Linked DNA regions of Homo sapiens: regions 2, 3, 4, 5, 6 and 7 are each linked to region 1. The links are contacts of gene promoters, found by promoter capture Hi-C in blood cells and fetal thymus (Javierre and others, 2016). All regions are on one chromosome and are shown on one strand. The core of a region is centred on a gene start or on the middle of the fragment in contact, and the rest is flanking DNA. Distances in the headings are between cores, read along the strand shown.

Region 1 (3,408 bases), core at 247-2,746:
AAGAGATCTTTTCTCACTATTTGTTAGAGACATAATCTGTTTTAGGAATTTATGAACAATGTATACCAAAATCCTTATAACTATTGCATTATTACAACAAGTAGTTTCAAGTTAATAAACACAGTGCTTAATCAATAACCCAGTTTTTCTTCCAGAAGTATGTGAATCTTTAATCTCATATAACTTTCAGATAAAATCATAATTATAGAAAAGTTTGTTTTTTCTCATAAGATTTAAAAAGTAGAAGCTGAAAGTTATGTTCTGATGATTAAAATAAATTTAAAATTTTGTATAAATCACATTTATATCTTCTTAGATTTTAATTTCATAATTTAAATCAAATGATAGCATGAGTTTGAGTTAAACATTTCCATGTCATATTTATGATACATAAAAGCACAGAACAGGTTAAATTATTTTTGCTGCATTTGCTTCCTAATGTGTTCTTTTCCCTTTGAAGTGTTCATTGTAATATTTCTTAAATATTAAGTAGAGCCTTTTGCAATGGTTGTAATATTTCATGTTATACCTTTCAATTTAAGTCTTATTTTCAAAGTGAGTTATTCGTAGATACTTAGGACTATATAACTTCTTTCAAACCACATGCAAAACACTCTAAAGTCAAATAATTTCCATCAATATAAGAATACCAATTTTCCAATTGTATTTTGTATTAACTTAAATGGCATGGAAAAAATGCCAAACAGTTATATTAATAGCACACTTATTAGACTATGCAAATTCTGTTCTCAAAAAGGATCTGGAATATTTTTGTATTTTTCTAGAAATAATTTTCTACAAATAATGCTTCATTTTTCACTAAGTATCAATTTTCACTTTATTTGTTATCTTAACACAAACAAGAAAATAATACGGGGACTATTACAAGGGCGTGAGGGCCACCGCTTCCTAAGAGAATGAATGAGGATGAGAGTAAAACATTTTGAATGGAATGGGATTTAATGATGGGTTTGCAGGTTGACAGCCACTGCCTCTGTATTTCTCATTAGATAATGATCAGCCTAATTGAAAGTTTTGTAGGGTTTTTTTCCCTCTAGTTGTTGAATTCCAAAGGAGGTCGTGCAGTGTTTCATTGAAATCCCTTTTATTGCTTTGCAGATTTTAAAAGAGAAAATACATCTCTCAGTAATCATAAAGGCAGAGAAAGAGATACTCAGTTTCTGTCACTAAAAGGTAAATCCTGAATAAAAGGGAGCAACTCTTCTCCCCAGATACATTAACATAAGTAGCAACACACTGCAAAAGAGAAAAAAGAAATCACTTCAGGGAGTTGTGAAATTCTGTTTTGCTTACCTGAGCACAGACTCCAGGAGCTGAAAGCCAGGAGTAGCATGCATACAAGCTGGATTTTCATTCCTGCCATCATCTTTCAGCCTTCTAACAAGCCAAGTCCGTAAAAGTCAGAAGCACACTGAAGGGGGCTCTCTCTAGCACTTCCTCTTTCCTTCAGCTGGCTTTGAAAGTGAGTGAACTATGAGAGGTGCTCTGGCCATTCCCCTATATATATAAGCAGGAGGATGATGTCATTGATTGTACAGACATTATCTTTGCAGGATGTGCCCTATCTTCACCTCCATCCCTCCCCTCTTTGCCCTGCTTTCTCCTCCCCTTTTCCTTTGTCCCCCCTGCTCTCCTCCCCCATTTCTGAACCTTGAGTGAAAGTGACGATCTTCCCTAATTGCTGCTGCTGCTGCTTTGGATTTCTGACGCACAGAAGGAGTCATTCAACTGCACTGACATACAGCATACATACAGCATACTGACAAAGAACCCCCAGTATCATCCTTTTCCCACTTCTCATTCCCCCACTCCAAAAGTTGTCATTTTGATTTTGTGAAACATGAGATCTGTTATTTCTAATTTTTAAGGAAAATCTCCAGGATGAATGCATGAAATCAGTGATTCCTTAGGCTTGGAAGTTCTTGAAGAGTTAGGGTGCTTCTCTGGTAATTCAAACTTCTGAGCAAATGTTTAGTGGTTCCAAAACTAATACAGGTTTTAAATAATCCATGCTGGAATAAGATGGAATAGAGACAGAGAATCAGTTATAAAAATTAAGCAATTAAGTTTAGAGAATAGAAAGAAAATCAATAAAAAGAAATAATAGATCCAGGGAATAAGATATTATTTCCTAACAAATAGAAAATATTTTATTGTAAGTAATGAGAGATGACTGAACTATGTGTGCTGACTTTTGGTTGAATGTATTAGAAAAACAATTTCATGTTTATAAAATCCAGCTCTAAATTACTTACATTCTAGCAGGTAAAAATTTGTGTTGTTGTATCACTGACTTTTTTTCTGTACATTATCTCTTTTTATGCCTATATTTTTCTGCTCTTTTTGAATTCATTCTTGATGCCATGTCTCACTCTTTGTATAATTCCCTTCTCAACAGTTTTTACTATTGCATCGGCTTTCTTTCCCTGTTATAATACTCTTTTCACCATAAAAAAAGAGATTGTACTTTTGGAAAGGAGACAATCCTAAATAACCACCATTCACCAAAGTCACTTTTCTATGATAGTCTTCATGTATTTCATGAGTTACACTGATACCCATTCTTTGTCTGAGTTCTCAAAAGAAAATTGTTCAAAATGCCTTTTAGAGTAAAACTTTCTTCTTGTAGTAAGCATTTCAAGATACATGGGGTAATTTGACAAGTCAGTGCTGTTAGAGATGTGAATATTTGAATGTAAAGTTGTCTGAGTCTTGTTTAATTTTTAAATAAATCAATCATGTAGTAACAGTTGAGAAAAAATAGGATTGGTTCCTATAGATAATTGATTTATATTATACAATCTATGAGTTTAACTTTTTCACCTTTACCCAAAACTTAAGCAAAGCGATTAAATCCAAACATTTAATAATTACTTAGAATAGCAAGGAGTCTTTCATATAATACCAGAAATTTAATAATAACTGATATATTTATTACTTTTAGTTTGTTTTCTGAACTTACATAAAACACAATATTGAACATACTCACATGGAGGAAGGTTTCTGTAAAGTATTTAGTTGACAAATGTGAAATACATACGTCTAGATGTTTTCTGCTTTCCTACCATTAGGGGGAGCAATGGAAGCTTGAAACACTTGGTTTTCACTTAACAGAGTCTCAGTGAGGATTTGTGCTTACTTTCCTGTTACTATCAGAGCATCTTTGTGACAGAATCCTCTTAAAGCCACTTTGATTAACAAATCGGGAAAATTATATATACTTTGCATGATAATTAAATTAGTTGTTTTCTCTGCTTTTGAATTGCAAATACAAAGAATGATCTTTTAAAATGTGTGATAGCAGTCTAATAGTAAAAAGGAAATGTGATTCTTATTTTCCTCAGATGATTTCTTCAATATGTTGACAAAATTGATCCCTAATTAATT
Region 2 (3,408 bases), core at 650-3,149, 490 kb after region 1:
ACATGCCTGTAATCCCAGCTACTCAGGAGGCTAAGACAGGAGAATTGCTTGAACCTGGGAGGCAGAGGTTGCAGTGAGCTGATATCGTGCCCAGCCTGGGCGACAAAGCAAGACTCCATCTCAAAAAAAAAAAAAAAAAAGCTTAGATAATTAAAACAGTGCATGTAAAATAAGATGGAAAGGACAGAATTGAGAGTTAAAAGTGATTCTATTACACTTATCACATTTGTTTTAAAGTGAAGACTGCATCTTCAATCCTGGGCAAACACAAACTTTTTAATTCATAGTGTTGAGACAACTTTGTGCTGATCATAATCCAAACTCCATAATCCAAAATGTTGAAATCCCCAAAGTCAAAATCCCTAAAATCTAAAATCCCTGATGTCTAAAATCCAGACAATACTGAAACATTAAAACCCTAAGTGTTAAAATCCTGAAAGCTGAATTCTGGGGAAGAAATTAGTGCATTTTTCAGTTGTGTGAAAGACAGTTGCATGGACTTAATTTTTGGTGTTAACTTGACTGGATTAAGGAATATCTAGAAATCTGGTAATGTATTATTTTGGGTGTGTCTGTGAGGATGTTTCCAGAAGAGATTAGCATCTGAGTGTAAGTAAATTAGGTGGAGAAGATCTGCCCTCAGTGTTGATGGGCACCATCTAATAGGCCATGGGCCCTGAGAACAAATTCAGAAGACAAATTGGTCCCTATCTCTGAGAGCTGGGACAGACTTTTTTTCTGCAGCCTTGGACATGAGAACTCCAGACTCACCGGCCTTTGGACTCCGAGACTTACACCAGTGGCTCCCCAGGTCCCAAAGCTTTTGGCTATACCATCAGCTTCCCTGGTTCTCAGGCCTTCAGACTTGGACTGAGCCATGCTGCTGGCATTCCCAGGTCTCCAGCTGGCAGACAGCTTGTCATGGGACTCTCAGCCCCATAATTGTGTGAACAAATTATCATAATAAATCCCTTCTCATATATTTATATACATATCCTAATGCTTCTGTCTCTGTGAAGAACTCTGACTAACACAGATGTGGTATTAGGGAAGCTAAGTGTTACTCCTTTTACTGTATACAACACAATGAAAGAGATCTGTGAAATTATTCCCTCACAAAAAGGCTGTGATAATGGCGTAATGATAAAAGTTTAAAAGCTAACTATTATAGGTACTGCATGTGAAAGCAGAAAATTGCTTGTGATATCTGAGCAATAACCAGATTTTCAAATGCACAGCATACACTTATGGAATGTATGGACCACAACCACTCTCCAAACACAAGTGCAGAGTATTTTGAAGATCATAGAGGTGAAAACACAGGTGAAAAATGCTTGAAATCTCCTCTACCAAGTAATTTGATAGTGTACTTCTGTACCGTAATGCCAGTTTGCTGTTATATATTTAATCATTACATCATTGTTTAAAAACTTTTATATTTTCTTCTTCAAATTTGACTCCACAAAAATGCATTATCACAATGTTCACTTCATGTGTAAGCATTGTGAGTGAATATAAAAACTCTGATCCTCAATACATGAAGATATATCTTACTTTGTATATCTGCATTTGTGAAAGAAAAAATTTTTTCAAGATCTCAGCTCTTTGGGCAACTGCATACTTTGTTGGGACCCATTGCAGTATTTGATAGATCTTGTCAAAAGACTCAGTGTGTCCATCATAGTATTTTACATGACCACAGTTAAAAAGTTGGGTGCACACAATTGCCAACCATAGTGATATATGTTTATGCATTTTGCTTTTCGACCTATTTCTTTATAAATATGGTTGATTTATAACTGTTATATTTGTGTGACTTGTTAGTATATATTAGTGTTTATGCTTGCAAAAATATGTGTCCTGTTATTGTATGTCTTATTGTGTAAAGTAGCTGATGAAGTATCCTCTCATGTTCTTATATGTTTTCAAATAAACCCCCCCCCCTTTTTTTTTTTTGAGACGGAGTCTCGCTCTTTTGCCCAGGCCGGACTGCAGTGGCACTATCTCCGCTCACTGCAAGTTCCACCTCCTGGGTTCACGCCATTCTCCTGCCTCAGCCTCCCGAGTAGCTGGGACTACAGGTGCACGCCACCACGCCCAGCTAATTTTTTGTATTTTTAGTAGAGACAGGGTTTCACCGTGTTAGCCAGGATGGTCTCGATCTCCTGGTCTCGTGATCCACCCGCCTCAGCCTCCCAAAGTGCTGGGATTACAGGCCTGAGCCACCGCACCCAGCCCTAAACCCCATTTTTAAAATGTAAATAATGTCTTTGATATTTTCGTCTCCAAAATTATATTTTCAAGGTCTGATGTTTTGGGATTTTAGACATAAGGAATTTTGATCTTTGGGGATTTTAACATTCAGGATTATGGCATTCAGGTTTTTGTCTTTCAGATTACGATCCAAACCCAGTTTGAGTTTACAGCATGGTGGCTGGCTTACCCAGAGCTAGCATTCCAAACAGTATGGGTCAAGTGGAAGCTACGTCTTTTTTATGACCTACTATTCGAAGTCATACAATATCACTTCTGCCTTACTCTTCTGGTTGAAGTAGTTAAAAGTCTGATCCAGATTTAAAGGGAGGAAACAGTCTACACTTTTCCTGCCAGCTTTTCCATATAATTTTGTATGCTAGTTGACATTGTTAATTAGCCATGGGTAGTTAATATTTGACAGCATTTGCCAAATATATCCAAATTTACTTTTTTCTTTTCTTCCTTTTTTTTCTTTCTTGATAGAAGTGTCTATTAATATCTTAAGGAGCAAAGTTTGAGAATTTCTATTCTCTATATTAAAATGTCATGTTGATAAAATGTTCAGCCAGCAGCAACCTTGGAATGATACATTTTGTGGTTATTTACTTAAATTGAAGATAAAATATTGTGGTATTCCTTCAATGTGTCCTTAGTAGAACTTTATAATCTGCCAACAATAACAACAGATCATTTTTAAAGCCCCTAGACTAGGAATAAGCTTGCTTTCTACGTTGTGTTTGAATTCTCCCCCTTGGCAACCTGTTTTTACTTCCTACAACTAAGGCACCATGCTAACCTTTCCAAAGAAGGTCTGTTTCCTAAAATATGCAAGAGGTACAGGTATGGTCTACTTGTGGCTAAGGTAACCAGGAAAAATTCACTGAAAACAATGTGAATCAGCCCTTGAACTACTAAAATGAATGAAGGTTTTGGAAATGTCATCCAACGCAAAATTATGACAATTCTGGGAATCACTGTTCCAACTTAGATAAAGTGACACAGCCACACAGCCACTCTTCTGGGCTCCCTCTTTAGAATTCCATTGGTCATTTTTTTTTCTTTCTTTGAACTAGTGCCACCTTGTCTAATTTACTGTAGATTCATACTAAGTTCTGACAGTGGATATGGCAATTCCCATTTCATATTCCTCCT
Region 3 (3,408 bases), core at 295-2,794, 470 kb after region 1:
CATTTGAAAAAGTGGGCGAAGGATATGAACAGACACTTCTCAAAAGAAGACATTTATGCAGCCAACAGACACATGAAAAAATGCTCATCATCACTGGCCATCAGAAAAATGAAAATCAAAACCACAATGAGATATCATCTCACACCAGTTAGAATGGCGATCATTAAAATGTCAGGAAACAACAGGTGCTGGTGAGGATGTGGAGAAATAGGAACACTTTTACACTGTTGGTGGGACTGTAAACTAGTTCAACCATTGTGGAAGTCGGTGTGGCGATTCCTCAGGGATCTAGAACTGGAAATACCATTCGACCCAGCCATCCCATTACTGGGTATATACCCAAAGGAATATAAATCATGCTGCTATAAAGACACATGCACATGTATGTTTATTGCGGCACTATTTACAATAGCAAAGACTTGGAACCAACCCAAATGTCCAACAATGATAGACTGGATTAAGAAAATGTGGCACATACACACCATGGAATACAATGCAGTCATAAAAATGATGAGTTTTTGTCCTTTGTAGGGACATGGATGAAGCTGGAAACCATCATTCTCAGCAAACTATCGCAAGGACAAAAAACCAAACACCACATGTTCTCACTCATAGGTGGGAATTGAACAATGAGAATACTTGGACACAGGAAGGGGAACATCATACGCCAGGGCCTGTTGTGGGGTGGGGGGAGGGGGGAGGGATAGCATTAGGAGATATAACTAATGTAAATGACGAGTTAATGGGTGCAGCACACCAACATGGCACATGTATACATATGTAACTAACCTGCACGTTGTACACACGTACCCTAGAACTTAAAGTATAATAAATATATATATATATATATATAAAGAATAGCCTGCTCCAGCCAACATTAGTAATTCCCTCTTGTCAAGTCTACTGTGTACACTGCTGCCAAGTTATCTCTGTTTAGATTATCTTTCTTTCCATCTCTGTTTGGTTAAATAATATTTAAGACTTTGTGTTGTCACAATATCACAATTCCATTTTCTTGGGATTTTACTCATTCTTTTAGAGCTGACTCCAGTGAAGTGTTATTCACAAGCTTTCTGCAGACTCCATTCAGAAGGGATCTCACTGTCTTCTCAGAGCATTTGCCTCCTTCCTGGCTTACGACATATCCAGTTTGAACCCATATCTTCTTTAAAATTACTTAGGCATGGCCTCATATACCTTCTAGATTTTAAACTGCTCCAGAGGCCATGAATACTATCTACCAACTCTAACACCTTTCCTAAGTATTTTTGTCAAAATTCTGTCTCAATTTTTACAAACTTTACTTGTTGAACCGTATTCACTGTATATTAACTGCCTTACTTTACAAAATGAAGCACCGATGCCTAGCAAGCTTAAACTACCCGCTCAGGGGCCACATACTGACCTTGGTATAAGGTCAGTTCACTTTTTCTTCCCATTCTACCACAGTAAATACAGATAATAAATAATCACATATTTGATTAACAGAGAAGAATATAAATATTTTAAATGGTAAAGAATAGTGTCTGACTTTATAGTATCCCAAATCAACAATGCTGTCAGTTCTTGAAAAAGGTATGCATTACCAAATTATGTTGATAAATATATATACCTACCCAGTTGTACCCTAAGAAAACCAGTAGCATCTATTTTGTAAAATTACTTGCAAAATATAGTTTTATCATTTCACTTTCTAACTTTTTTAACAAAAGCTTTATTGAAGTGTAAATGACATAGAAAAATGCACATATTTACACAATTTGATAGGTTTTGATATATATTTACACCCATAAAAGCCTAACCACAACCAAGATTGTGAATATATCCATCACCCTCAGTAGTTTTCTCATGCCTCTTTTTAATCCTTCCATCCTCAGCCTTCCAGTATTTGCCTCACGCAAACCCCAGCAACCACTATTCTGCTTTCTGTCACCATAGAAGAGTTTTCATTGTTTTGATGTTTTATAAAATTGGTCTATATACCCTATACTTGTGTTTTCTGACCTCTTTTACTCAGCATAATTATTTTGAAATTCATTCATTTCATTGCATTTCTCAAAAGTTCATTCTTTTGTATTGCCGTAAATAGTATTACGTTGTATGGGTATACCACAGTTTGTTTCTCCATGCACCTGTCGATGGAAATTTGAGTTGTTTTCAGTTTTTGGTTATTAAAATAGAGCATCTAAGAACATTAATGTACAAGTTTTTATATGCACATATGCTTACTTTCATGTGGGTAGCTACCTAGTAGTGTAATAGGCAGATCATATATCTGTACGTGTAGCTATTTAAAAAATTGCCCCAAGTATTTTCCAAAGTGGTTTTACTATTTTCCCACTATTTCCAGCAGTGTATGGGAGTTTGAGATCTTCCACAGCCTTGACTCAACTTACTTAATTTAATTAGTCTTTTGAATTTTAGCCATCATGAAGTGTACACTAGTTCACCTTTTAATTTTTAAAACACCGACTATGTGCCAGGCATTGGCAGTGGGAATATAATGCTTAATAATATGTCCCTTCTTTCACAGATGTGACAGTCAATGAGAAAATAATAATCAAACTCATAACTTCAAGTACAATGTGGTAAACCCTTCAATACAGGTACAGAGAAATTCTTTTAGAAACATAGGGAAGTGAAGTCAAAGAAAGATTATGGAAAACTTTTAAAGATTTAGAATTAGAAAGATACCTTGACTCAGCTAGATATGAAAAAGTAAAGATGCAAACGCATAAAAGATGATGGCATTTTTAGAGAAGGGGAAAGACGTATGTGGATAGTCCATTAGTAGTGAGGATATAGTTGGTCAGAATGGTAGAGAGTAGATTTCAAAATAATTTACCTACCCTGCTATGGAGGTTGAGTATTTTTGAGGCTGAGGACAGACATTTCCAGATCTGTGCTTTTAAAAACAAAACAAAACAAAACAAAGCAAAACAAAAAACAGAGAAAGCTCTGAAGAATGGCTAAATTTAAAAAAGAATGTGAGCAGAAAGACACTTAGCAGGCTAAGGCAATGGTCTAATCAAAAGAAAATGATGAGGCTTTAATGTATGCTTTAGTTTCCAAATAGAGAAAAACTATACATGATGTGTTTTTTTGAGCCATATATAATTTTAAATTCCCCCCTCCCGTAATAAAGGCACTGATTTCCCAAAGGACCAAAACTCTTTATTATACACTTATGATGGAATCCCCTGAGTAGGAAAGTTTTTGAATTTTTAGCATCCATTTATTCTTTTAGAGATTTCAACAGCTATTTAGTCTCTTAATAAGAAAAAACCCCCACAAAACTGAAAAACTCCTAGCACAAGTCTTTAGAGAGTTTACAGAGGGTATTCATTAGGTTATATACATCTTACCGTCCAGCACCACATTCTCTTCTGTAACTTCATTAAGTAGGAA
Region 4 (3,408 bases), core at 352-2,851, 430 kb after region 1:
ATTTTGTTTTTGTATTTTTAGTAGAGACGGGGTTCCACCGTGTTTGCTAGGATGGTCTCGATCTCCTGACCTCGTGATCTGCCCGCCTCGGCCTCACAAAGTGCTGGGATTACAGGCGTGAGTCACTGTGCCTGGCCTGGTAAGTCTATTTTATCTCTACATATGCCCACCTATTTAGATTTATTAAAAACTCTTCTCATGTCACATTGAGAATTTAACACTATTACAAGTGTCATATACAGCTTCAAACCCAACAGTGACTCAAATCTGGTTGTTTTTTATCTATAAGAGCATGTAAACATAGTTGCCCAGCTTCACCCTCCCAGTATTTCACTAAGTAGCTCAAAATCATCTGGGAATAACTTTTTTTTCCTCTAACTTCTCTCCCTTAACTCTAGATCAGCCCTCTGGACTATCCATTAGGTGGCACTGCAAATCTCTGGATAGTTGTCTTGTCCTCCTAGAGTCAGATTAATCTTGTTTTATTTTCCAGTTAAATATGAGTTAATATAATCACCTGGAAATTAGGAGATTGTTGGAGGTTTGTACAGAGGGAAAAATGTGTGTCATAATGCTCTGAGAGAATGAGTGGGAAAGAAAATATTCCGAGAAAATATAATGGAATGATTTGTCAGTTTTAGTACACATTTGAGATTTACAGTAAAGGAAAGGCAAAAAGTCAGCCCTGGTGTGTCTGAGTACATGTATCTCATGAATGTGTGTTTGTGTGAATGTGGGTGTGTGTTTCAGTCCCATTCATCTGCATAGGTATAGTTGTAAAATATGCAGCTCGTTGGATAGTCGCTTTATTATGATGGGCCATGATACTAAACATTTTCTAAATATTATTTGAACATTTGTGGTTTTTGGCCATGAATTTAAAATAGAAGCCCTTGGATTATGGTTGCTTTTTCTCTGATCCCACAATGGTTACATGAAATTTTCTTGGTTTATTCAGACTGCTATAACAAAATACCTTACCCTGTGTAATTTATAACTACAGAAATTTATTGCTCACAGTTCTAGAAGATGGGAAATCCAAGATCAAGGTGCCAGCAGATTTGGTGTCTGGTGAGGGCCTGTTTCTTATAGACAGTGCCTTCTGTGTTTCCTTGCATGGCGGAACAGGCAAAAAAGCTCCCTGGCGTCTCTTTTATAAGGGCACTCATCCCATTTATGAGGGCAGAGTTCTTATATCATAATCACTTCCCAAAGTCACCACGTTTTAATACTGTTGCACTGCAGATTAAGTTCCAACTTATGAATTTTGGGGAGACACACATTAAGACTACAGCAGCAATTCAATCAGCCACTAGTTGTAGAGAATTATCCTAATTATTGATCATAGAATATAAATCGTGCCCATAGATGATAAAGGCATGATGGGTTGAAACATATTGAAAAAGTAATGGGATAAGTAGATTGTAAACCTCAAACGAACTTATACAATTTTTGGAGGGGGGTGCTAAAATATATTTTATAAAAGAGTAGGACATAGGTCAGAGAAAAAAGTACTTGAAATTAACATATCAAGAAGGACGGCAATTATTGGTGATAACTTGTTCAAGAGTATTGCCTAAGACTTCCCTTAAGGTTTTCATAAATTAAACTATCTGGACCCTGTGTGCAACAGATTCATCCAATTGCAACATCTTTTCATCTATACAGCTTTCTTATGTGCAAGTGTACCAGAAGAAATGTTATCACATGATAAAATTAGTATATTCTTATAAGAATTCTGAAATACAGTGAACATCAGAAAAAGAAAATTATCTTAGTTTGACATACTTTGGTTGTGAAATGATTCTCCAGGCTTCTTGCATTTCTGCACCTCCTAGGAGAGAGGCATTCACTGCCTCTTGTTTCTGGCAATCTTATCAAGAGTATTTGTATAGCAAACAGTCTTGAAAGATAACAGTACTTTTCTCTCTTCAGAGCAAAGGGCAAGTTTGTTTACCGCCCTGAGTAAAAGATTGTAGTTCTCTAAGGTAGTAATTTCTCTTTTATATGTAAGCCATTGTATTTTCAGGTATCATTTGGGCTTGTCAAATCACCTCAGGAGTATTGAGGCAAAATAAATTTATGAAAATATGTTGATGTTCAAATTGCTTGCTCTGCCATGAGAAATATTTTTCTTGATCTCTAACCTAGGAGTCTCATATCTTCTGCCAACATCTATGAAGTTGTGGCAGGCTCACTTGCTAGCTTGCAAGTAGGGCAATATTTCAGATCCATTGCAACTCTAGACAAACTTTATTCCAGGTGATTTTATAATATTTTCTAGTGATCAATGATTATAAATGATTACAATTTTAGAAATTCATCAATTAATGTCAGGGTGTTGGAGCCAAGATAATTAACTAGAAGTAGCTAATGTGCATTGCTTCATGAAGAAAAGAAAGAGTGGTGAGTAAATACTAGTGTCTCAAGTAGGTCATCCAGCTGGGCATGTTGGGATTCATCAAGGAAGCAAGGTGGCCCATGGAGAACAGACAAAAGCAAGACAGGACAGCCACCCACCCAGGATTGGTGTGGAGTCAGGGTAGGCTCCCCACCATAGTGAAGTAGTGAGTGAGTGAGAGCCTCCAGGAACCACTTGTGCTGTGGACCTTTGCAATCCTGGGCTCAGGAGATCCCCCATGACTCTTACTAGAGCCTCCAGACTGACTCCAGACTGACAAGACAAGGATGCCCACTCTCACCACTCACCACTCCTATGCAACATAGTACTGAAAAGTCCTAGTCAGAGCAATCAGGCAAGAGAAAAAAATAAATGGGTCAAAATAGGAAGAGGAAATCAAACTATCTCTATCTGCAGATGATAGGATTTTATACCTAGAAAACTTTTAGTCTCTGACTAAAAGCTCCTAGATCTGATAAACAACTTCTGCAAAGTTTCCGGATCCAACACTAATGTACAAAAGTCAGTAGCATTTCTACACACCAGTAAAGTCCAACATGAGTGCCAAATCAAGAAAAACCCCCACAATATCTACAGAAAAGATAAAATACCTAGGAATACAGCTAACCAGGGAGATGAAAGTTTTCTACAATGAGAATTAGAAAGCACTGCTCAAATAAATCAGAGATGACACAAACAAATGGAAAAATATTCCATGCTCATGGATAGGAAGAATCAACTTTGTTAAAATGACATACTACCCAAAGCAATTTCAAGACTAAATGCTACTCCTATTAAACTATCAATCACATTCTTCACAGAATTGGGAAAAAAAACTAACTATTCTAAAATTCACATGGAACACAAAAAAAGAGCCCAAATAGCAAAAGCCATCCTAAGCAAAAAGAACAAAGTCAGGGGCATCACATTATGCAAATTCAAACTAAACTACAATGCTACAGTAACCAAAACAGCATGGTACTGGTACAAAAATAGACACATAGACC
Region 5 (3,408 bases), core at 303-2,802, 390 kb after region 1:
GACCTGAAACAACTAGAGGATGTGCAACTGTATAGCTATTCTTGGTCCTAGCACGAACAAGGTCCTTTGCTGCATCAGTGGGAGTGAACAGATCATTCTGAAAAAGCTTGTATAGAGTTACATTATCTTGAAGTTTTTGCAGGGGGTTTCAGACTCATAGGCCCTCTACAGTCTCTCTTACTTTATTTACTCTTACTCTTCAAGTAGTACTTGGGAGTATCTTATTTGAAGATGCTCTTTAAAAGTTAGGAGGTGCCAAGGTAAGGTTCAAAGGATAAACACAGCTCTTCAGGTCTGACTCTTGTGTGAACTTTTGATGTAAGATGATAAAAAAATTGTGGGGTTGATTGAGGAGTTAGTGCTACTTATTCTTTTAAAAAAACTGTAAGTCATACCTTTAGTTATACTTATACACACTTATATATAAGCAATACTTATAACATGTATTTGATGTCTGCTTAATAACCTATGATATAGGTACATTATTATTATTCTCATTTCACAGGTGAAGAAAAAGAAGTATAAAGACATTAAATAAGTTTTTTAAGGGGTTACAACTAGTAGGTAGCTGAGCCAAGATGCAAACCCAGACTGGATCCCACTGTAGCATTCTTGGACATTATGCTACTGGAAGGATAATACCCCTATGTTAAAAGACAATTAATAAATTATTGCTATATAATCAAGCAATTTTCCAGGAATTTGGGATTTCCTTGTTGCCTATCCCCTATCAATGAGGTAGGAAACTTGAGTTAAATTTGGTATAAGTGCACAAACAAGGAAAAGAGTTTACGCATATTACATATTACATAGTTTTTACCTTTGCTATATTTCTTAGAAACCTAAAATTCAAAGAAGCAATTTATATAAATTTGAAATTTCTTGTTTTTAGTTAAATTCTGATTGTATTAATATTTTCCAGTGAGTCCTAATGCCATAATATACCCTATGCAAAAAAAGAGGGTTTACTTTTGTCAAGCAAATTTTGGGAACTGGTAGGAACTCCATTCACCTTTTGGAGCTTCTCAGGACATCTCAAATGTTAAAGGCTCTATGAGATCCTGCGGTGAGGTTTAGTGTTGTTCACTTCATCATTTCCCAGACTTCTTTGAGCAAGCGTTCTTTGGTTGTCTATGTAGCTGTTGTTTCTTAGATACCCCTATTCAAGTTTTGTGTAGCTACTTGTTCAGTGGAACACTCCATAGTAAATTCTGGATTGCTCAAATTAAAGTGGGGAATGAGGACAGCCATTTTACTCCTCTCACATTCTACAAAGAGTTGGAATCTCACAGATTTTCTCACTGTATGAAAGCACATGCAGTCTCTGGAATTGGGCAGAGTTTCCATGGTAAATTATTTCTTTCAAGCCTCTTTAAAGAAGGTATTCGGCATCTCCTTTGTTGACATTAAACAATATCACTTTCCAATTTCTATGCAACAGCAGTTTACTGTTGTCAGTTTAGAGTTATTTTGCATTATAAATGTTTCTCTGGTTCCTGTTCACTTTTAATAGAGAATTTTAGTCTTTATTAAACACACTTGTGTAATGTGTTTTAATTATAACATTCAATTTAATTTTGATGGCTTCAAATTATATTGAAAAGGCAAGAAAAGAACTTTGCATTTTTTATGTTTCTTTTTAGCTGGCTGGCTGATTGGTTCAGTATTAATTGATACTTTAGCCAAACAGAATAAATACTAACAAGCTCTTTCTGTTGTCAAACAGCTGTTATGATGATGGCTTAACTACTAATGGCAGATTTTCTACCATCAAATACAGACTCATTATACTTTGTACCATTAACAAATGCTTGTCAATATCAAATTATCTTAGATCTCTGAACATGTTGTGCTTAATCATTATTCTGATATTTCAGACAAGCAGATTATTTTTAAAATTGGCAGTGGTGTCAAACAGCAAGTTCATTATCTTAGAAAAATAATTATATCAGCACTATAGAAGGTCATTTGTTAACTTTCTGTCTAGAGAGATAAACATTTGTAAGATCCCAAACCAGCAGATCAAGATTTTTAGTTTTAATGTGTGACCTATAAATCCCACTGAGTAGCTCCACCTCATCCTTTTTTTTCTTTCTTATTATTATTCTTAACTTTACACATTGGAGGTTCTAGACTCTTCAGGTTCTTGCAAGAATGACAGTTTGGTTCTTCTATTAAGGGTCTTATCTCACAGTACAGGAACTAAATCTCATGTCATTTCCCATATTTACATTGTATTATCAAGAGAGTTTGGGAAGAGGATGGAAAGTGTGATCGATGTAAATGAACAACCATTATTTCAAGTGATATTTTTTCTTCTCTATTAAAAAAATGACGGTTAGAAGTAAAGCAGTTGAAAATATAAATTTTTATATGCTTTTCTAAGATATTCAATCCAATAGCATTTCCTTTCTTGTAAGTATTGTCGTTAAAAGTGTAGCTACACAGATGGCTATTAAGATGGCAGAAATGAATGAGACTTCCACTTGAGAATACTTGTGTTTGAAGGATTAACACAAGGCAAAGGAATAATGGAAGAGTTAATGTTTTGTCCTCTTAGGAAAGCAAATAGATGACTAAATATTATGAATACTTCAAGGCAAGGGATGTATGGACAGCATAGATTCCTTAAGAAGTCTATTACAGTACCTCAATGAATTTTGGATAATAGATTAATAAAGTTTAGGACCTAGAACTTAGGATAACTTAAAAAACATTTATAGGGTAAATATCTATGGATGGAAAAAAAAGAGAGTTTCATTCTGAATCATTTTTGTTCCAATCTAAAGTGCTAACATAACCAGTTTTTCTGCCAATGTAAAACATATATTTTATTCTCCTTCTCCTCCTTTAGTTGTAATTACTTCCTTCTTCCATCGAGTTTAGTAATGAAAAGAGCATTACTTTTGGAGACAGACAGACCAAATATTTTCTTACACTTCAGTATTGGGCTCTAAGCAGAGCGTTAAGACAGACAAAATTGAGGTTTGTAAGCTTTTGTTTGACTCTCATTTCCCATCCTAATGCACCTCTCTGCTTCCCTCTCCCCAGTCACCTCTTATGTAGACTTTCCTTCATCATACAAGAATTAAGAAACTCAGTCTCTCTGTTTCAAGAGCCTCCCTAACCTAAAGAGAGGGAAAAATGGTGTTTTTTTAGTATACTTGAGGCTACGGGCTCAGCTCAGCACTGCCATGACAGCCTCTCCTGCAAATACGTTTCCTACCACCAGTAGACAAAATCATAAGTATTTCTAACTGGGTGAGTTAAATTCACCTTTTAAAAGTAAATTATCACAAAGTTCTATATGATAAGAGACTAGCAGAACTGTTCTTGATCCAGTTGCTCTCTGCTCTGTGTTTCCAGAGCCAAAAAAATTTCCTTGTTTCAGCTTTCTTACTGAGTATA
Region 6 (3,408 bases), core at 310-2,809, 370 kb after region 1:
TACATGTTAATTTCATTTAACCTAATACTTGTATGATACAAAGCTGAATAAGATAGTTGTGCTTACATGTTGATAAAAATTTGATAGCCAAATTGGAATAGCAGGTAGTACAATTGTAGTATGCTATTCGGTTGAGTGATTGCAAAGTTAAAAATTATTTCCTTGCAATTATGGAATATGAGTTTGGAGACCACAGTGAAACAACATACTGAAGGCCATTCATGTAATACTTTGGAGGCCCATTCAACTCATTACGTTTCATGCATCATTAGTGAAAAATTGGCAATATGCTGTATGCTTTCTAATATAGAGGAATAAAAACTGTGGAGAAGGAAATGATTCAAGAGATCATTAGTGAACACCTCCAAACTGAGTCAAGTTTCAATTCCACTTCTTTGGGGAAAAATATTACAAGCCAATATGGGGTGGGAAAAATGTAATGTAAGTTAATAAACCATAATCTATATTTTTAAAACGAACTGTAAAACTTGCTTATGGTTTAAGTTTTCTTCAGAAGAAAACTTCAAAATAAATATTCATTGAACAACTGTAATGATTACAGACAGTGGCTTTTCCTTCTAGTAAATTTAATGATATTATTGTATAAAGCAACATAATAGTAATTTACCCCCAAACTTTTTTTTTTTTTTTTTTGAGACCGAGTCTCGCTCGTCGCCCAGGCTGGAGTGCAGTGGCGCAATCTCGGCCCACTGCAAGCTCTGCCTCCCGGGTTCATGCCATTCTCCTGCCTCAGCCTCCTGAGTAGCTGGGACTACAGGCACCTGCCACCACGCCCGGCTAATTTTTTTGTATTTTTAGTAGAGACGGGGTTTCACCGTGTTAGCCAGGATGGTCTCGATCTCCTGACCTCGTGATCTGCCCACCTCAGCCTCCCAAAGTGCTGGGATTACAGGCGAGCCATCGCGCCCAGTCACCCCCAAACACTGTAACTGATTTACATTTATAAATGAGGGATGAAATATCACTCAATAAAACCAATGAAGATGCCAGCAACTCACAATCCAGATCTGATTTCCAACACAGTGACCATTCATTGCAAGGGTATTGTATTCTCAGAGGAAACAGATTAGTTTTTCATTATCTCTAAAACATATAAAATCATTTTAATTTCAGTTATATGTCAAAGAAAAATGCAAAAAGAAATTTAACTTTAAATCATGGCCACTATATTCATGTATTGTTTTCACAAAACATACTATTTCCATGAACAAACACTGAAAACACAGCGCACTGAGAGAAACACAAACAAGATTTTAGACAGCTCTGTATATAGTTCTAATTATCATTTGGCAGTACTCTAAAATTTAATATAAATTGTATACATATATATATACACACACACAGACACACATATATAAACTTATATGCCATCTCATCTGTTGCCCAACATTGCCTTCTAAAAAGAGTTGACAGCAGTAACTTTCTTGAGCTGCTCCTAATCAATTTGAAACTTTTTCTCCTGTTCTTACTTTTCAGAGGCATTGATATATTTTTAATGAAATATTATACCTTTCTGTTTCTCATTTCCATTCTGTGTTTTTCTGACCTTCACATTTCTTAAACTGACCCTTTTATATGAGATGTATACACACTGAGCTGAACAGCAGCTTTCAAGAGATATCATCCTTGGTGATCAAGATATTTAAAAGGAAAGCATATTTAAGAAATTCTCAGTGCTAAACTTTACATGTAGCAAATACCTTTTAGGCACCCAAGGCTGTATCATTGTATCAAGATGTTAGGATGCGTCTTCTAGGATTTTCTGTTGGTTTCACCGTTGCCCCTTAAGTTACGGATACAACTTATTCTAACAAATTACATAATGATAACAGAACTTTATGAAGATTAATTCACATAATTTTTCATAATCTGTATATAATCAATTTAATTATCCATTTATTCATATATTCATTCATTCCAATTTTAACCAATCATCTATTATTTTTCATATAGATATTTGCGTATTGCCTACCCGTGTACTTGACAATGTAGAAGGCACTACATGTTTCCATCCTACAAGTGTTTGCTCTACCTTAGAAATCCAGTTCTATGAAACTGTCTTCTAAGACATGCCTACTCTACCTCTCCTGTCTTTGCTCATGTATTTTTCCAAGTCTCTTCCAACTGATTTCTTCATTCTTTAAACTATGAAATATTTTTTTCTTATTGCTGGCCTCATCCTGCATAAAGTATTCTTTATTCGATAAGGAAGACTTCTTTTGTCTTTCCAGTTATATTATAAACCCATGGAGGACTTATCTCTTTCTTTTTGACATCTCGAGCAGTACTACAGAACAGCAGTGGTATGATAGGCTGAATAATGGCTCCCTAAGATGTCTACACTTTAAACTCAAGAATATGTGACTGTTACCCTATGTAACAAAAATAACATTGCAGATGTGATTAAGTTAAAGATTTTGAGATGAAAAGATTATTCTGGATTGTTTGCATGGGCCATAAGTATAATCACAAAGAGAAAATATTATAAGAGGTAGGTAGATTTGACAACAGTAGAGAAACCAATGTGACCACAGAAACAGAGAATGGAGTGATGTAGCCAGGAGTCAAGGAAGGATAGAATCCCCTAAAAGTAGAAGAGTCAAGAAGCAGATTCTCCCTTGGAGTCTCGGAAAAAACAGCCTTGTTCTAAGCCCATACATTTTATTTTAAATTTCTAGGCTCCAGAACTGAAAGATAATAAATTTGTGCTATTGTAAGCCTTTAAATTTGTGGTAATTTGTTACAGTGGCAACAGCAAACAGATGCAACTGGGTATATCATAGCCATTTAATGGTTACTAATTCAGTCTTTGGGCTTTTGTCCACAAGAGGGACTTTTGGTAACTACTCTTCCATGACTCTGGAAATAACAATAAATTCTTCACCATCTACCTATTTAATTTGAAATAAAAGGAATATGGCCTACTTAGTTAAAAGGCATAATAATATACTTCATATTAAAAAGGATATTTTTCTTAAACTATTTCCCAATTGTCCTGATTATATTTATTTTGTCAATAACCTCAGTTTATGATGTGTTTATTACAAAAAGCCAGTGCTTAATATTATGTATATAAAAAAGGAGGATAATAGTCTACATTTTACTATTCTTGCAGTCCATTCCTCATTTATTTTATTTTATTTTATTATTTATTTTATTTTATTTTATTTTTTGAGACGGAGTCTCGCTCTGTCACCCAGGCGGGAGTGCAGTGGTGCGATCTCGGCTCACTGCAAGCTCTGCCTCCTGGGTTCACGCCATTCTCCTGCCTCAGCCTCCCGAGCAGCTGGGACTACAGGCGCCCACCACCACACCTGACTAAATTTTTGTATCTGTTAGTAGAGACGGTGTTTCACCGTGTTAGCCAGGATAGTCTCAATCTCCTGA
Region 7 (3,408 bases), core at 553-3,052, 360 kb after region 1:
GTTTGCCACAGCTTTAAATGCAGGTCTTACTCTACATTAAGTTCCAATTTTAGAGTCCACAAGCAATAAAATATAGCATAGTCTAATTTTTCTGTTGAATTTCACAAGGGGAAAATGCAATATATTCTTCATTCTTTAATAGACAGTTGTATCATGATTGATCATTCCTGGTCAGGGATAAGTAGAAGTATTATATAAATCAAAAATGACCTCTTACTATAGAAATATTTTAAATTCTATGATATATGGTTAAATAATAAGGCTAAATATGTGCAAAAAAAGATAAGAAATAATTGTTTCTCTGTTAGTATTATCTAACAATGATAAATATCATGACAGGTGATATTTATCAAAATTGCTTGTATGCGGTTGTTAACACAAAACAATAAGTAATTACTAGATTTTTTAATCATGAAAAAGCTACCTACAAAACTAACTGCTAATCAAATTGAAAACTGTCTCTGTTTACTATGTAGTAGGACCATTAAATCCTATTCACGAACCAATGTGATGAAGTATAAACTATGAATGTGAAAAACAAGAAGTCTGTGGACAATTTTGTTTTCCTCCTGTGTACCACTGACATGGCTTGTTCACTCCTTGATTGACAGTAAAAAGAACTGTCTCTGATGTCATACTTAAAACACAAGCCAAAGGCAATGAGTGAAACTCCAGCATATTCTGATTCTCCCAAAGCCAGAATAATAATTAAGACCCAAAATGAATTTGAACGAGGAGATAACCACATTAGCCACACCTTAGTAATGGCATGGCAGCTATTTTATACTGAAGAGTGGTCTTATGATTTTTTTAATGATATAGCTCTCTAGCAGATTTTAACTTATTTTTGGCATAAGAAAAAAGATAGATGTCAAAGGTAGCAAAATGATGCATTTTTAAACACTATTTCTATTGTCCAGTTTTGTGTTTGATTTTATATGCAAAAGTTGCTACTCTTTAAGTCTAATATATCTTACAGTATGCAGGCTACTTTCATTAGAATCACAGGGTAGTGGGCAAAAGAGAGCAAGGCTTGATGCAAACATAGATACCTGGGCTCCACCCAAGGCGTACTTCTGAATCAGAACATTGAAGGTGTCCCTCCACTCCCCCTTCCCTCCATCATGGCTACTGGAGGTGATCCAAGCATGATTCACATTAAGAAGTAGTTTGTTTTCCTGAGCCTCACCACCTGCCATCTAGTTTAAGGTGTGACCCCTGTAATTCTGGTTTCTTTTTTGAGGGTTTGTCTTTTCCAGGATGACTGAAAATGAACATTTTCATTCCCTTCAGGGGAAATCTCAGGACTGTGAACCCATCACAACAATTATATCAGAACACAAGACACGACCTGGTACATTCAGGATTTTCAGACTTGCTTAACCTTAACACTTAGTCAGGGAGACTCAGTTCCAGGTTGAGCTGCATAGAAAGCCAGGCCACGTGTTACTAGGTCTTTCCCCAAAACAGTGCTACTTGTGCATTCCATACTTAGCCTTCTTTGGATAATCTCCATCACTCTGAACAAATAAAAACAAACTATATTTTATAGGCAGAATGTCATGTTAACTCATCAAAATAAAAATTTTTTCTCATTTTATAAAAAGCAACAGTCTGAGAGATTCATCCCAGACTCAACCACACATGATTTATATCATCAAAGGGACACAAAAATGGGGATTTTGCCATTTTCCACATGAATAAAGGATAGGACTTGCTTTACATTTCTGAAAATAAATAGAACATTTTACAGTGATTTTTTTCCCCATATAAAAGTCTCTTCTAAAGGTAATTCATACTTTTACTTCTTGGGAGAGAGAAAATTTATATTCTAGAAATGAGAGCATTTACTGATTGTACTCTTCAGAGTTAATATAAATGAATAGAGTTAGTTTCCATTAAAAGCAGACTTATACATAATATATATTTCAAAATATATATATGCAATCTTTATAGAATTAAGGTATGTACTCTTTTTAATTTAAAGATATGTATTCTTTTCTTATTCTCTTTTGCTGCATCAGCATTAATTTCATTAAGCATTATTACTAAAGATGATTCTAACAGTTTCATGCATTCATCTTTCATTTTAGAAATATTTCATAGACCTTCACTATATCTCCAATAGTGCAAGATTAATTGTAATAAAAATGGCATGTCCTTAATTTCAAAGAGTGAATAATTAATATTTCTGGTATCCTTTGAGCAGCTTTGGTGTAAAATTCAGGAACTACTCTTTTGGTTAATACAGTATTCAAATAAATGATTTACAGATTTAATACAAATATTTAGTGTTTCAGCATTTCAATTGTCTAACAAATACTGTATTGTTTATAGACCTCATAAAAACGTATGCCTTTAAACTTAAAATTAGAATACAGAATTATTCATTAAGTTACAAACTTTAAATTGGAAATTCAGAATAAATCTGTTAGCTACTCTAATGTGCAAAATTCTCTTAAACATTAATTCTACTTAAAATGTAAAACACAGATTACTCCTATAAGTAATGTAAAACACATTAGTTCTAAGGTTATTATTTAATTTATAATTTCTATATTTATTATAAATATTGATTTAGAATACGTATCCTACAATGCAAATAATTCTCATCCCAATCTATGGAAATGAGAATTTTCTATGCCAATGCATTGGGATTTTATTTAAATCATTAAAAATTCTAATCACATCACAGGATTTTTTTTATTTTGTCTGTAACTCTATGGGTGCACACCCAATCAATTTCTGTTATACAAACTAAGTCTCTAAAACTGAAAAAAAAGTTCGTGTCCTAGGATAAGCCATATTACTACCTAATTTTTCCAGTCTTTACTCAAAAAGTCTGAGCTCCCACTAGAATTTTTGCTACCTCCCTTTACTGCTTTATTTGCATTTCTTTAGTTCTCTTAATACATTTGTGTCTTTCCATGTCTGTATAGATTCATTAATGCTGTTTGACAGAGTCCTTCATATCATTATTATATAATCTGTTGATCTCCATCCCCCTCATTTAAATGTACACAATTCTGCAATATTTGTGTTTGTTTACTGTTTTTGCTGATTTCCTTTTTTTTTTTTTTTACCACATTTTCCCTATTTGATAGGGCCAAAACTCATATAGTTATTAAAATGACATCAGACTAAATTATTTTTATTTCACATGGCTTTGTCTGTTTCTGTTGGCATATTGTCATGCTAATAACAAATGTAACCAAGTAAACAGGCAGCATCATTATAGGAAAATGTACTACAATAAAGGAAGTGTGACTCTCCATAGAATATATACTACTAGCAGCTTATCCAAACTTAGATGAGGAAGTACAATTAGTTTAGTGTAGCTTAAGAGTAGGCATCTAGCAGACAGTAAAAAAGAGAAAGATTCAAAAGATAAATCAGGGCTATATAAAG

What was found. The method cuts DNA at HindIII sites, captures the fragments that hold promoters and counts their contacts. A CHiCAGO score of 5 or more calls a contact.
Region 2: a contact is called between a fragment that was not itself captured here and the fragment with the promoter of NTS in region 1, in 1 of 17 cell types (erythroblasts). The highest score is 5.4, in erythroblasts.
Region 3: a contact is called between a fragment that was not itself captured here and the fragment with the promoter of NTS in region 1, in 1 of 17 cell types (megakaryocytes). The highest score is 5.7, in megakaryocytes.
Region 4: a contact is called between a fragment that was not itself captured here and the fragment with the promoter of NTS in region 1, in 6 of 17 cell types (fetal thymus, megakaryocytes, erythroblasts and 3 more). The highest score is 13.2, in fetal thymus.
Region 5: a contact is called between a fragment that was not itself captured here and the fragment with the promoter of NTS in region 1, in 8 of 17 cell types (megakaryocytes, erythroblasts, endothelial precursors and 5 more). The highest score is 27.7, in megakaryocytes.
Region 6: a contact is called between a fragment that was not itself captured here and the fragment with the promoter of NTS in region 1, in 7 of 17 cell types (megakaryocytes, erythroblasts, M1 macrophages and 4 more). The highest score is 12.6, in megakaryocytes.
Region 7: a contact is called between a fragment that was not itself captured here and the fragment with the promoter of NTS in region 1, in 4 of 17 cell types (M0 macrophages, M2 macrophages, megakaryocytes and 1 more). The highest score is 6.8, in M0 macrophages.

Annotation. Positions count from the first base shown.
Region 1 is chr12:85,872,383-85,875,790 of GRCh38, reverse strand. It overlaps NTS (neurotensin), which reads right to left and starts at 1,496. Exons shown (of 4, transcript NM_006183.5): 1 at 1,315-1,496. The coding sequence starts at 1,387. The HindIII fragment of the contact is 11,906 bases long and covers 1-3,109 here.
Region 2 is chr12:85,377,955-85,381,362 of GRCh38, reverse strand. All of the region lies in intron 2 of LINC02820 (long intergenic non-protein coding RNA 2820), which reads right to left. Among named protein-coding and RNA genes, the nearest start is that of LINC02820, 62 kb to the right of the region's middle. The HindIII fragment of the contact is 2,154 bases long and covers 823-2,976 here.
Region 3 is chr12:85,399,568-85,402,975 of GRCh38, reverse strand. LINC02820 (long intergenic non-protein coding RNA 2820) reads right to left here. Exons shown (of 5, transcript NR_183554.1): 3 at 3,366-3,408. Among named protein-coding and RNA genes, the nearest start is that of LINC02820, 83 kb to the right of the region's middle. The HindIII fragment of the contact is 340 bases long and covers 1,375-1,714 here.
Region 4 is chr12:85,438,966-85,442,373 of GRCh38, reverse strand. All of the region lies in intron 4 of LINC02820 (long intergenic non-protein coding RNA 2820), which reads right to left. Among named protein-coding and RNA genes, the nearest start is that of LINC02820, 120 kb to the right of the region's middle. The HindIII fragment of the contact is 6,428 bases long and covers 1-3,408 here.
Region 5 is chr12:85,481,213-85,484,620 of GRCh38, reverse strand. All of the region lies in intron 4 of LINC02820 (long intergenic non-protein coding RNA 2820), which reads right to left. Among named protein-coding and RNA genes, the nearest start is that of LINC02820, 160 kb to the right of the region's middle. The HindIII fragment of the contact is 2,888 bases long and covers 109-2,996 here.
Region 6 is chr12:85,497,850-85,501,257 of GRCh38, reverse strand. No RefSeq gene overlaps it. Among named protein-coding and RNA genes, the nearest start is that of LINC02820, 180 kb to the right of the region's middle. The HindIII fragment of the contact is 6,193 bases long and covers 1-3,408 here.
Region 7 is chr12:85,514,862-85,518,269 of GRCh38, reverse strand. No RefSeq gene overlaps it. Among named protein-coding and RNA genes, the nearest start is that of LINC02820, 200 kb to the right of the region's middle. The HindIII fragment of the contact is 5,362 bases long and covers 1-3,408 here.